Regions from separate parts of the Homo sapiens genome. Here region 2 is linked to region 1. The links are contacts of gene promoters, found by promoter capture Hi-C in blood cells and fetal thymus (Javierre and others, 2016). All regions are on one chromosome and are shown on one strand. The core of a region is centred on a gene start or on the middle of the fragment in contact, and the rest is flanking DNA. Distances in the headings are between cores, read along the strand shown. Region 1 holds the start of SPATA32 (spermatogenesis associated 32). Region 2 overlaps HEXIM1 (HEXIM P-TEFb complex subunit 1).

What was found. Contacts are between HindIII fragments. The CHiCAGO score rates a contact against its expected background, and 5 or more counts as called.
Region 2: a contact is called between a fragment that was not itself captured here and the fragment with the promoter of SPATA32 in region 1, in 7 of 17 cell types (neutrophils, M1 macrophages, M0 macrophages and 4 more). The highest score is 7.3, in neutrophils.

Annotation. Positions count from the first base shown.
Region 1 is chr17:45,259,703-45,265,173 of GRCh38, reverse strand. It overlaps SPATA32 (spermatogenesis associated 32), which reads left to right and starts at 3,080. Exons shown (of 5, transcript NM_152343.3): 1 at 3,080-3,170. The coding sequence starts at 3,158. MAP3K14 (mitogen-activated protein kinase kinase kinase 14) reads left to right here. Exons shown (of 16, transcript NM_003954.5): 15 at 1-11; 16 at 374-2,055. The coding sequence ends at 538. The region is part of intron 2 of MAP3K14-AS1 (MAP3K14 antisense RNA 1); the gene reads right to left. RefSeq lists enhancers at 2,039-2,642, 3,077-3,166, 2,643-3,248 and silencers at 3,197-3,246, 3,317-3,436. The HindIII fragment of the contact is 9,151 bases long and covers 90-5,471 here.
Region 2 is chr17:45,148,615-45,153,798 of GRCh38, reverse strand. It overlaps HEXIM1 (HEXIM P-TEFb complex subunit 1), which reads right to left. Exons shown (of 1, transcript NM_006460.3): 1 at 1,700-5,184. The coding sequence starts at 4,608. The coding sequence ends at 3,529. It overlaps HEXIM2-AS1 (HEXIM2 antisense RNA 1), which reads left to right. Exons shown (of 3, transcript NR_186789.1): 3 at 2,880-4,137. Among named protein-coding and RNA genes, the nearest start is that of HEXIM1, 2.7 kb to the right of the region's middle. RefSeq lists enhancers at 3,936-3,995, 3,666-4,221, 4,626-4,735, 4,786-4,835, 4,886-4,935. The HindIII fragment of the contact is 2,947 bases long and covers 2,415-5,184 here.

The DNA of each region.
Region 1 (5,471 bases), core at 1,831-4,330:
TCAGCAGCCAGGTAAGGGGGGCAGGTACACTCTGACGGGCAGAGTCCCAGAAGCCAATGCAGCTGGCCCCACCCTCCAGGAGGAAAGCTTTCAAAGAAGTAGAATGGCACTCTAGGGAATACTTGGAATTGGCCTTCAACGTCCCCCAGGACCTCAAAGCATTTCCCAGGGCCTCAAAGCAAGGCTGGCAGTGGTGACAAAGAGGTCCTCCAGACCTACACTTGAGCCGGGTGGGATTCTCTGAGTCCCGTGGAATGACAGACAGGCAGTGCCCTTAGGGCTGCCGGTCTGGCTGGAAGGAGATGTCTTTACCTTTCTACATGGCTTGAGCCCTATGCCATGATCTCAGCCCACTGGTTTGCTCCACCCTTAGATCCCAGCTGCAGCCTTCAGCTTGGTCACCAAAGACGGGCAGCCTGTTCGCTACGACATGGAGGTGCCAGACTCGGGCATCGACCTGCAGTGCACACTGGCCCCTGATGGCAGCTTCGCCTGGAGCTGGAGGGTCAAGCATGGCCAGCTGGAGAACAGGCCCTAACCCTGCCCTCCACCGCCGGCTCCACACTGCCGGAAGCAGCCTTCCTGCTCGGTGCACGATGCTGCCCTGAAACACAGGCTCAGCCGTTCCCAGGGATCTGCCAGCCCCCGGCTCAGCAGTGGGACCAGGGCCTCGCAGCAGCAAGGTGGGGGCAAGCAGAATGCCTCCCAGGATTTCACACCTGAGCCCTGCCCCACCCTGCTGAGAAAACACTCCGCCACGTGAAGAGACAGAGGAGGATGGCAGGAGTTACCTCGGGAAACAAACAGGATCTTCTCTGCCCTGCTCCAGTCGAGTTGGCCTGACCCGCTTGGATCAGTGACCATTTGCTGGCAGACAGGGGAGAGCAGCTTCCAGCCTGGGTCAGAAGGGGTGGGCGAGCCCCTCGGCCCCTCACCCTCCAGGCTGCTGTGAGAGTGTCAAGTGTGTAAGGGCCCAAACTCAGGTTCAGTGCAGAACCAGGTCAGCAGGTATGCCCGCCCGTAGGTTAAGGGGGCCCTCTAAACCCCTTGCCTGGCCTCACCTGGCCAGCTCACCCCTTTTGGGTGTAGGGGAAAAGAATGCCTGACCCTGGGAAGGCTCCCTGGTAGAATACACCACACTTTTCAGGTTGTTGCAACACAGGTCCTGAGTTGACCTCTGGTTCAGCCAAGGACCAAAGAAGGTGTGTAAGTGAAGTGGTTCTCAGTCCCCAGACATGTGCCCCTTTGCTGCTGGCTACCACTCTTCCCCAGAGCAGCAGGCCCCGAGCCCCTTCAGGCCCAGCACTGCCCCAGACTCGCTGGCACTCAGTTCCCTCATCTGTAAAGGTGAAGGGTGATGCAGGATATGCCTGACAGGAACAGTCTGTGGATGGACATGATCAGTGCTAAGGAAAGCAGCAGAGAGAGACGCTCCGGCGCCCCAGCCCCACTATCAGTGTCCAGCGTGCTGGTTCCCCAGAGCACAGCTCAGCATCACACTGACACTCACCCTGCCCTGCCCCTGGCCAGAGGGTACTGCCGACGGCACTTTGCACTCTGATGACCTCAAAGCACTTTCATGGCTGCCCTCTGGCAGGGCAGGGCAGGGCAGTGACACTGTAGGAGCATAGCAAGCCAGGAGATGGGGTGAAGGGACACAGTCTTGAGCTGTCCACATGCATGTGACTCCTCAAACCTCTTCCAGATTTCTCTAAGAATAGCACCCCCTTCCCCATTGCCCCAGCTTAGCCTCTTCTCCCAGGGGAGCTACTCAGGACTCACGTAGCATTAAATCAGCTGTGAATCGTCAGGGGGTGTCTGCTAGCCTCAACCTCCTGGGGCAGGGGACGCCGAGACTCCGTGGGAGAAGCTCATTCCCACATCTTGCCAAGACAGCCTTTGTCCAGCTGTCCACATTGAGTCAGACTGCTCCCGGGGAGAGAGCCCCGGCCCCCAGCACATAAAGAACTGCAGCCTTGGTACTGCAGAGTCTGGGTTGTAGAGAACTCTTTGTAAGCAATAAAGTTTGGGGTGATGACAAATGTTTCCAGGCCATCGGTGTCCTCTCTCTTGCCTGCCGGCCTGCTGAACCTCACGACCCTAACAGCTGCCTCTCTTTGCCTTCTTGCTGAGATCTTTTCAAGTCCCCCTTGTTTTGGACAAGGACTGTTTCAGCCCTTGAGTGGGGCTGCTTTCCCACCACTCCTCCCAGTGGCTGCTTCTAGTCCCAACGCTGGGCTAGTCATTCAGACCAGTTAGGCAAGATACCTTGCCCGGTGGCATCAGGGAAGTCCCTCGCCAAAATATGCCAGGCTGAGGGGTGGAGGAGGAGGACAACAAAGCCTGCATGCTTTGTGCCACTGCCCAAGTTAGGCAGCCCCCTACCACCAGAAGGGAAATAGGGATGGGTTCTGGGCCCTGACCATCCAGGGATGCCGGATGCACACCACAGGCCCTCCACCCTCCCCTCCTGTCCTTGAGGCCTGGACTCTTAACCCTTTCCGCTGCCTCCTGAGCCCTGCATGGGGCCAGGGATGCCTTTGTGGGCTGAGTTCCTTGGTCATGGAGCTGGGGCACACGGGGTGCTGAGTTCCTTGGTCATGGAGCTGGGGCACACGGGGTGCTGAGTTCCTTGGTCATGGAGCTGGGGCACACGGGGTGCCTTATCGAATCTGGCTCCACACTCCCTGTGTGCACAAGTGTGTGTGCGCGCGGCTTGGGTTGGTTTAGCCGGTTCTTGGAAGGGCCCTGGGACCACGAAAAGGGCGGCAGCCCTGAGCCGCTGGCGTGCAGAGCGGGTGCAAGTCCTGTCCAGCACAGCCAGGCTTACCTGCCGCCTGCCTCTCGCTCTAGGCCCGCTGCGGAAGCGCGAGCCCCACCCCCGAGGTCTTCGGAGAGGAAGGAGTTCTGGCTTCGGGCCCGCAGCCTTCGGAGGACGCCTCACTCGGGCCGTCCCCCGTCCGCCCGCCCGAAACCTAAATGCGGCTCCCTGCCTGTGGGGTCGCGGCGGGGACGTCACAGAGGCGGCGACATCACAGGCACCGGCGCCTCTAATATTTCCAGCGCCCACCAGTCCCTCAGCCAAAGAGCACACTGGAGGCGGAGAGGCAGCATCCACCAGCCCGCTCCCCGCCTCCAGGACAGAGCCTCGGTCTGCATGGGGGTGACAGGTGGGAGCGGCCGAGCGCCCGGGGGCGAGGGTTGGGGCAGGCGGGGAAAGCGAAAGTGAGAGGGGGAGGGGCGCGAAGGGGGCGGTCAGGAATCCGCCCAGGGCCCGTTCCCCTGCTCCCAAACCCCCGGCACCTGAAAGGCAGGTCGACCCGCCGCCAAAGCCCACCCGGTGCCCCTGACTACGGCTCCCAGCCTCAGCCCCTGCGCGGTGCACACCCATGTGCTCTCACGGACACGCATGCGCGCCTTGGAGTAGGGACTGCAGAGTCAGTGGTTCTTGAAGGGGTTCTGAGACCACAGAAGGAGCAATGGCCTTGTGCACAGGAAACGACTCATGAATTATCCTGAACTGCAGATCCAAAAAATCACATCCAGTTGTCCCTCCTTGATGCTTGAGGCTTTGCAGGGAGGAGCGGCAGTCTTCAGCACATTTTTACGGAGCGCTTCGTTGATGCCTTGTACTCTTCTCTGAACCAATGAGCAAAGATGTTTGCCCCCAGTGCCCTGTGTCTCCCCTTCCCATAGGGGCGTCAGATCCCCCACTGAAATGGTGGCTTTCTTTTGGGGATCCTCTCTCCCAGAAGGGCATGGGCCAGCATTAAAAACGGTCAAAAATTAGGTGGGCATGATGGCTCAACGCCTGCAATCCCAACACTTCGGGAGGCAGAGGTGGGAGGATCACATGAGGCCAGGAGTTCAAGATCAGCCTAGGCAACATAGCGAGACTTTGTCCTCTACAGGAAATGTTTAAAATTAGACAGGTGTGGCGGCATGAGCCTGTAGTCCCAGCTACTTGGGAGGCTGAGCTGGGAGGCTCACTGGAGCCCAGGAGTTGCAGTGAGCTATGATGCTGCCACTCCAGCCTGGGCCACAGAGCAAGACCCTGTCAAAAAAAAAAAAAAAAAAACCAGAGGTCGGGTGCAGTGGCTCACGCCTGTAAGGTAAAACGTAGATTAGACAGCCAGGTCTGTCATGGAGAGGATTACACTGATTATTTGAATTGGGCTTTCAGGCATGAGTAGGACTTTGCCAGAAGAAGGCTTTCCAGGTATAAGAAATAGCATTTGCAAAGGCACTGGGTGCAGAAAGGCCTGCGGTACTCTGGGGGTAGCTTCGGCTTAGGGTGAGGGACAGGAAGCTGGATGCCAAGAGATGAAAAATGAAGGTAGAGATCAGACCAAGAGGCCACATGGAGTCTGGGGGTAACCGGAGACAAGTGAGATGTAGCAGGCTCACTCTGAGGTCATTGAAAATCCAGGTTGGAGGGGGACATAGTTGCAGTGGTCCCACTGGAAGACTAAAGAGATTTAAGACAGTGCAGTGAGTAGCATCCCAGAGTTTGGAGCCAGCCAGACCTGCCTTTGGGTCGTGTGCTGCTCTTAATAGCTGCATGACCTCATACACGTTTCCTCATCTGTGAGAGGAGAGCCGTGGCCAACTGGGCATAGGGTAGGTATGAAGACTGAATGTGCAAAGCACTCAGCACCAAGTGCCAAAGGGTAGGAAGTCATGGGTGTGTGCTGGCTCTGGTACTGGGAGATGAGGACAGCATCAGGGGTAGGAGGGCAGTAGCTGCGGAGGGAGGAGGAGTCACAAATGACCCAGGTTTCTCATTTGGGTGAAAGGATGAAGGATGAATAGGGCGAGGAGAGTGGGGTATGGAGAGATGACAGACTAGAAAGGGAGACAGGGGTCAGACAGGCAGAACCGTGGCAGCCACACTTAAGAGTCTGGACATACAAGATATGAATTTGAGGTAAGAAATTAGGCCAGGCATGGTGGCTCACGCCTGTAATCCCAACACTCTGGGAGGCCAAGATGGGAAGATCGCTTGAGCTCAGGAGTTTGAGACCAGCCTGGGCAACATACTGAGACCTCATCTCCTTTTTTTTTTTTTTTTGAGACAGAGTCTTGCTCTGTCACCCAGGCTGGAGTGCAATGGCACCATCTCGGCTCACTGCAACGTCTGCCTCCCGGGCCGAAGCCATCCTCCCTATCAAAACCTAACAAAGACATTACAAGAAAAGAAAATTATACACCGATATCCCTCATGAATATGCATGTGAAAATTCTGAAAAAAAGCCAATCAGATTCAACAACATAGAAAAAGGGTAATATATCACAACCAAATGAGGTTTATCCCAGTAACGCAAGGCTGATTTAACATTTTAAAAAATAAATTTATAGCTGGGCATGGTAGCTCACACCTATAATCTAGCACTTTGGGAGGCCACGGCAGGTGGATAGCTTGAGCCCAGGAGTTCAAGACCAGCCTGGGCAATATAACAAGACCCATCTCT
Region 2 (5,184 bases), core at 2,639-5,138, 110 kb after region 1:
GGCTCACAACTGTAATTTTGGGAGGCGGAGGAGGGCGCATTGCTTGAGCCCAGGAGTTTGAGCCCAGGAGTTTGAGACCAGCCTGTGCAACAGGGTGAAACCCTGTCTCTCCAAAAAAAAAAAAAAAAAAAAAAAAATAGCCAGGCGTGGTGGCAAGTACCAGCTACTCAGGAGGCTGCAGTGGGAGGATCGCTTTAGCCTGGGAAGTGGAGGTTGCCGTAAGTCCAGATCGCGACACTGCACTCCAGCCTAGGCAACAGAGCAAGACCCATCTCAAAAAAAAAAAAAAAAAAAAGCCAGGCGCGGTGGCTTATGCCTATATTGCCAACACTTTGGGAGGCTGAGACGGGCGGATCACTTGAAGTCAGGAGTTCGAGACCAGCCTGGCAACCATGGCGAGACCCCGTCTCTACTAAAAATAGAAAAATTAGCCAGTTGCAGTGGCGTGCACCTGTAATCCCAGCTACTCGGGAGGCTGAGGCAGGAGAATCGGTTGAACCCAGGAGGCTGAGGTTGCAGTGAGCCGAAATCACGCTACTGCACTCCAGCCTGGCGACAGAGTGAGACTCCGTCTCAAAAAAAAAAAAAAAGTATAGAAAGTGTTAAAACTGAAATTTTGAATAAACCTCATCATTGTGAGAATATAAATGCAAAAAAAAAGGTAAAATGCTAGTGCCTTTGAAAGCAAAATTCAGACATACTTGCATAGCTTAAGGTAAATTGATGTATGAGAGTTATTTGTAATTAGATATTTGTGTATATATATATTTTTGAGACAGTTTCGCTCTTCTTGCCTAGGCTGGAGTGCAATGGCGCGATCTCCTCTCACTGCAACCTCCACCTCCCGGGTTCAAACGATTCTGCTGCCTCAGCCTCCCGAGTAGCTGGGATTACAGGCATGTGCCACCACACCCGGCTAATTTTTGTATTTTTAGTAGAGACGGGGCTTCTGTATGTTGGTCAGGCTGGTCTCTTAACTCCTGACCTCAGGTGATCTGCCCACCTCAGCCTCCCAAAGTGCTGGGATTACAGGCATGAGCCACTGTGCCCAGCCTAGATATCTGTATATTTGAAGACTGGGCTGAATTTGTCTTCTAAAACATACTTTTTCTGATGATAAATGCATTTATAGTCTTTCCAAGATTCATTTTCTAAATATCATTTTTCTAATACTAGGGGAAATAAGATTTTCATAGCTGAATCCCTCTTTAAGAAGAGGGTCTGGGCTGGGCGCAGTGGCTCATGCCTGTAATCCCAGCACTTTGGGAGGCCGAGGCGGGCGGATCACCTGAGGTCGTGAGTTCGAGAGCACCCTGACCAACATGGAGAAACTACGTCTCTACTAAAAATACAAAATTAGCTGGGGGTGGTGGCACATGCCTGTAATCCCAGCTACTAGGGAGGCTGAGGCAGGAGAATCGCTTGAACCTGGGAGGCAGAGGTTGCGGTGAGCCAAGATTGCACCATTGCACTCCAGCCTGGGCAACAAGAGCGAAACTCCGTCTCAAAAAAAAAAAAAAATAAAGAAAAAGGGTCTAATATCAGAGATAATCACTGCTGCATCTTACAGTTCAGTCAAAATGAGGCTTCAGCTCTGCACTGTAAAGCCAGAGGGCACTGTTGCTGCCTTTCCAAGCAGCTGTTTTTCTGGGGCTGCTGCATGACGTCATAGCAGAAGAAAAAAACACGAAGAAAACTATTTCAAAATAAATGTTTAATATAATTTTTAGACCAAAGAAAAACTCAATCATACATTGTCTCCAGTGGACCATATGTGCCAGAACAGGACCAACTCAGTCCAGCTTTGAAGGCCCTGATTCAGTCCTACTGGTATAATCTCCCTTGATTTATTGATTTGTGTATGCTTCTTATGCAATACAAGGTGCATTTTACTCTTGAAGTCCCTATCACCTCCACCATCGCCATTTAACTGCAAAAGCATGCTTCCTAATGGGAGGGTTTTCTTCCCCCTTCCCTGCAGAGGTTCTGAACCTTCAAGGAGTTTGACAATCTTATGAATCTCTTGAACCTTCTCCCCAGAAAAATGTACATACAAGTCTACAAATAATTTCATGGGGTTCATGGACCCCAAGGCCCACAATGGTTTCTAAGGCCCCAAATTAAGGAACCTCTGTGCTAGTGATTTGAGCAACGCAATTGCCCTCAGAAGACACTGACACAGGGCAGGTGAAGGACTGGGTTAACCAAAATGACAGGAGGCAATCTCATAATTTCTGTTTTTATTTTGGGGCAAAATTTAGTTCTCAGGGCCTCCCTACGTTTAAGAGCAGAACTACTCAAGAACCTAAGCAGCTATCAGCATAGTTTAAGCGATTTAGAATAGGGCTGTGCAAGGGGATGTACAGGGTTCCTCATTCAGCTGAGGACCTCATTTAGCTCCTTAACTGGAAGCTTTACATTTGATCTGCAGTGAGGGGACATTTCTAATTTTAGTTTGACCCACATGGAAAGGTGGATAGCTTTTTTTTTTTGTTTTGGTATAGAGAGCACGTAGAATTGGACAATTAGGTAAATCCTTGGAATCCCCCAAACAGCCATTTGCTTTATAAATCCAGTATTTCTTACCTCTGAACGTCTTAAAGAGCTGCCTCACAAATTAATCTAACCATTGCTTGCACTAAGAAGTTTGCCAAGAGCCTCTTCCAGCCTTACTGGGGGGAAGGAAGAGATTACTGAAAACCAACTTGTAGGAATGAAATGAGGCTGTCAGTTGTCTAACCTAACAAACTGCCAAATTAGGTTTACATTTTTTGTTATTAGACTTTTGAATGGCCGAGGCAGAGTTAAATTTAAAATTTTGGATTGTAGCCACTTTCCACTCGCCTAAACACTCAATACCGGTTTGTTTATTTTTCCAGCATCAAGAAAGAAAACCAAGGCACTAGAAAGCAAGCACACTTAAGTATTGAAGATAATTACATCTTAAATTTTGCCTGAACTGTATATTGTAGCATACTTAAACCCATTCAAGGAAAAAATTGGCAAATTGAAAATTCTCCCATTAAAGATTGATATTTTTGCAAACTGACAAATTTAACGATTTCGGTACCCCTCCCCAAAAATGCAGTCACATAAAATATATCAATACTATTTTGAATTAGCTCTAGAAATCACACTGAAACTATGTTACATTTACAAATATTAAATTTATTATAACTAAAATGAATTTAATTGTTCTCAGATTTGGCCACCTTATAGCTCCGTTTAAGGAGGGGATTTGTTAAAAACAAAAATGCATTATAACTTGGTCAAATTACTTTCACATTAAGGAAAAAAACTTCTAAAAAGGAAAACAAGAAAAGCAACTCTTCAGTTTCACATAATTAAAAGAACAGGAGAAAGCACGCAAGCTACATATAGCTAAATTTACGAAACCAAAGCCAGGGGGATTTCTCTTCTGATTATGTGTCATAAAAAGGTCCACTGTCTTATATACACATGTATATAATGTTACATTCCATCACTGTAAAAAGTCCCCTTTGCCCCCTCCCCCAAAAAAGTTTCAGTCTAGTCTCCAAACTTGGAAAGCGGCGCTCGCTCCTGCTGCCGGTGCAGTTCGTTCTCGGTCAGCAGCTGGAGGTTCTCGGCGCGCAGCCGGTCCAGCTCCAGCTCCAGCTCCCGCACACGCGCGTCGTCGCCACCCAGCCGCTTGCTCTCCAGCCGCAGCCGGTTGTTCTCGTCCTCCATGCGCGAGAGGCACTTCTCCAGTTCCAGGTACTCCTTGATGAGCTCCTGCTTGCTCATGTTCTGCAGGCTCTCCGTGTGGTACCGCTCGTACGTCTCCGAGAAGTCCCGCTGCAGAAACTCGCTGCCGTCCCCTCCCATCCCATCGCTGCCCCCATCCTCCTCACCCCCTTCTTCCATGAAGTCGTCATCGCTGGTGTCGTCGGATTTGGCGGCGGCCCGCTTGGAGTACAGGCCGGTTTTGAGATCCGGCTCCTCCTGGTCGTGATCATCCATGAGGAACTGCGTGGTGTTATAGGGCGCGACCGGCTGGCCCTTGGCGAACATCTCGGCTCGGATCCTTGAAGCTCGAAGGCTCTGTTTCTCGTCGAACTTTTTCTTCTCTTCCCAGGTCAGCTTGTAGTACGGTTTCCAATGCCGCTTCTTCTTGGACGGGCGTCTCCTATGTTTTTTCTTCCCCAGCTGTCTCTGCTGCTGTCCCCACTCCTCTTCGCCCCCTGCGGCAGGAGCCCCCAACTTACTGGCCTCGGAGTCATGACAAGGCTGGGCGAGCAGCTCGGCCTCGGGCGTCGGTTCCACTTCTGCCGGCGGCGGGAAGTCGCCGCCAGCGGACGAGTCGTCCCCATTCTGGCCCTTCTCGCCCTCTCTCAGGCAGCTAGATTCTGGACAGGCCTGGGTCTGCAAGGGAGGTGGTTGGGATTCCAGGCTCCCTTCCCCCTCCGGCCCCGGACGGCCACCCAACTGGGGGAACGCTCTCGATTGCCACCTACTGTCCTCCTCGGGCACCCGCTCCTCCGCGCCTGGGGGGCGCTCAGGGTTCAGCTCTTCCTGGACAGCAGCAGCACCTGTACAGTTGCTAGTTTGAGGCTGGTGTTGATATTCTGACAAGAATGGCTCGGCCATGGCTAGTAGAGTCCTCGAAGTTTAAGAAATTTTGGCTAGTAAGTCCTTAAGGAAAAAAATGGGTTTTTCTTAAAAAAAAGAAAAAGAAAAAAAAAACAGTCCAACAGAGTCCTCTTCAGTTTGTAATTCCTGCAGTGACGCCTTTAGCTAGTCCTTCTATCAGCAAACTCCAACTGCAATCTGGGGAGCTCAAGTCAGTAAAGGGTTAAGCGCCCACAGTGCGGCCAGCTAGCGGGTCCAAGGGGGTGCAGCGGCAGGAACAGTACGTAATGGGCGGAGGTGGGCCTCAAACCTCCAAGCGGAGCACCCCAATAAAGGAGTTGGTGAGCAAGGTGATGAGGGTAAGTCCAGTGCGTGAAACCCAGCCCCGAAGGGGTTAAAACTACCGATGACGCTGCCTCCGAGGGGCCAGATCCACAAAGGGTTAAATCCCCTGCCGCAGAGCCCACAAGGGGTTAAAGTCCCGGCGCCACCTCCTCCCACTTCCACGGGTGTCGCTTCCACCCAAGCTCCCAGTTCCCTAGGCCCGGCCGTAGCCTCAGCAGAGGACAGACAAACTCATCTCCCCTTTGGCTC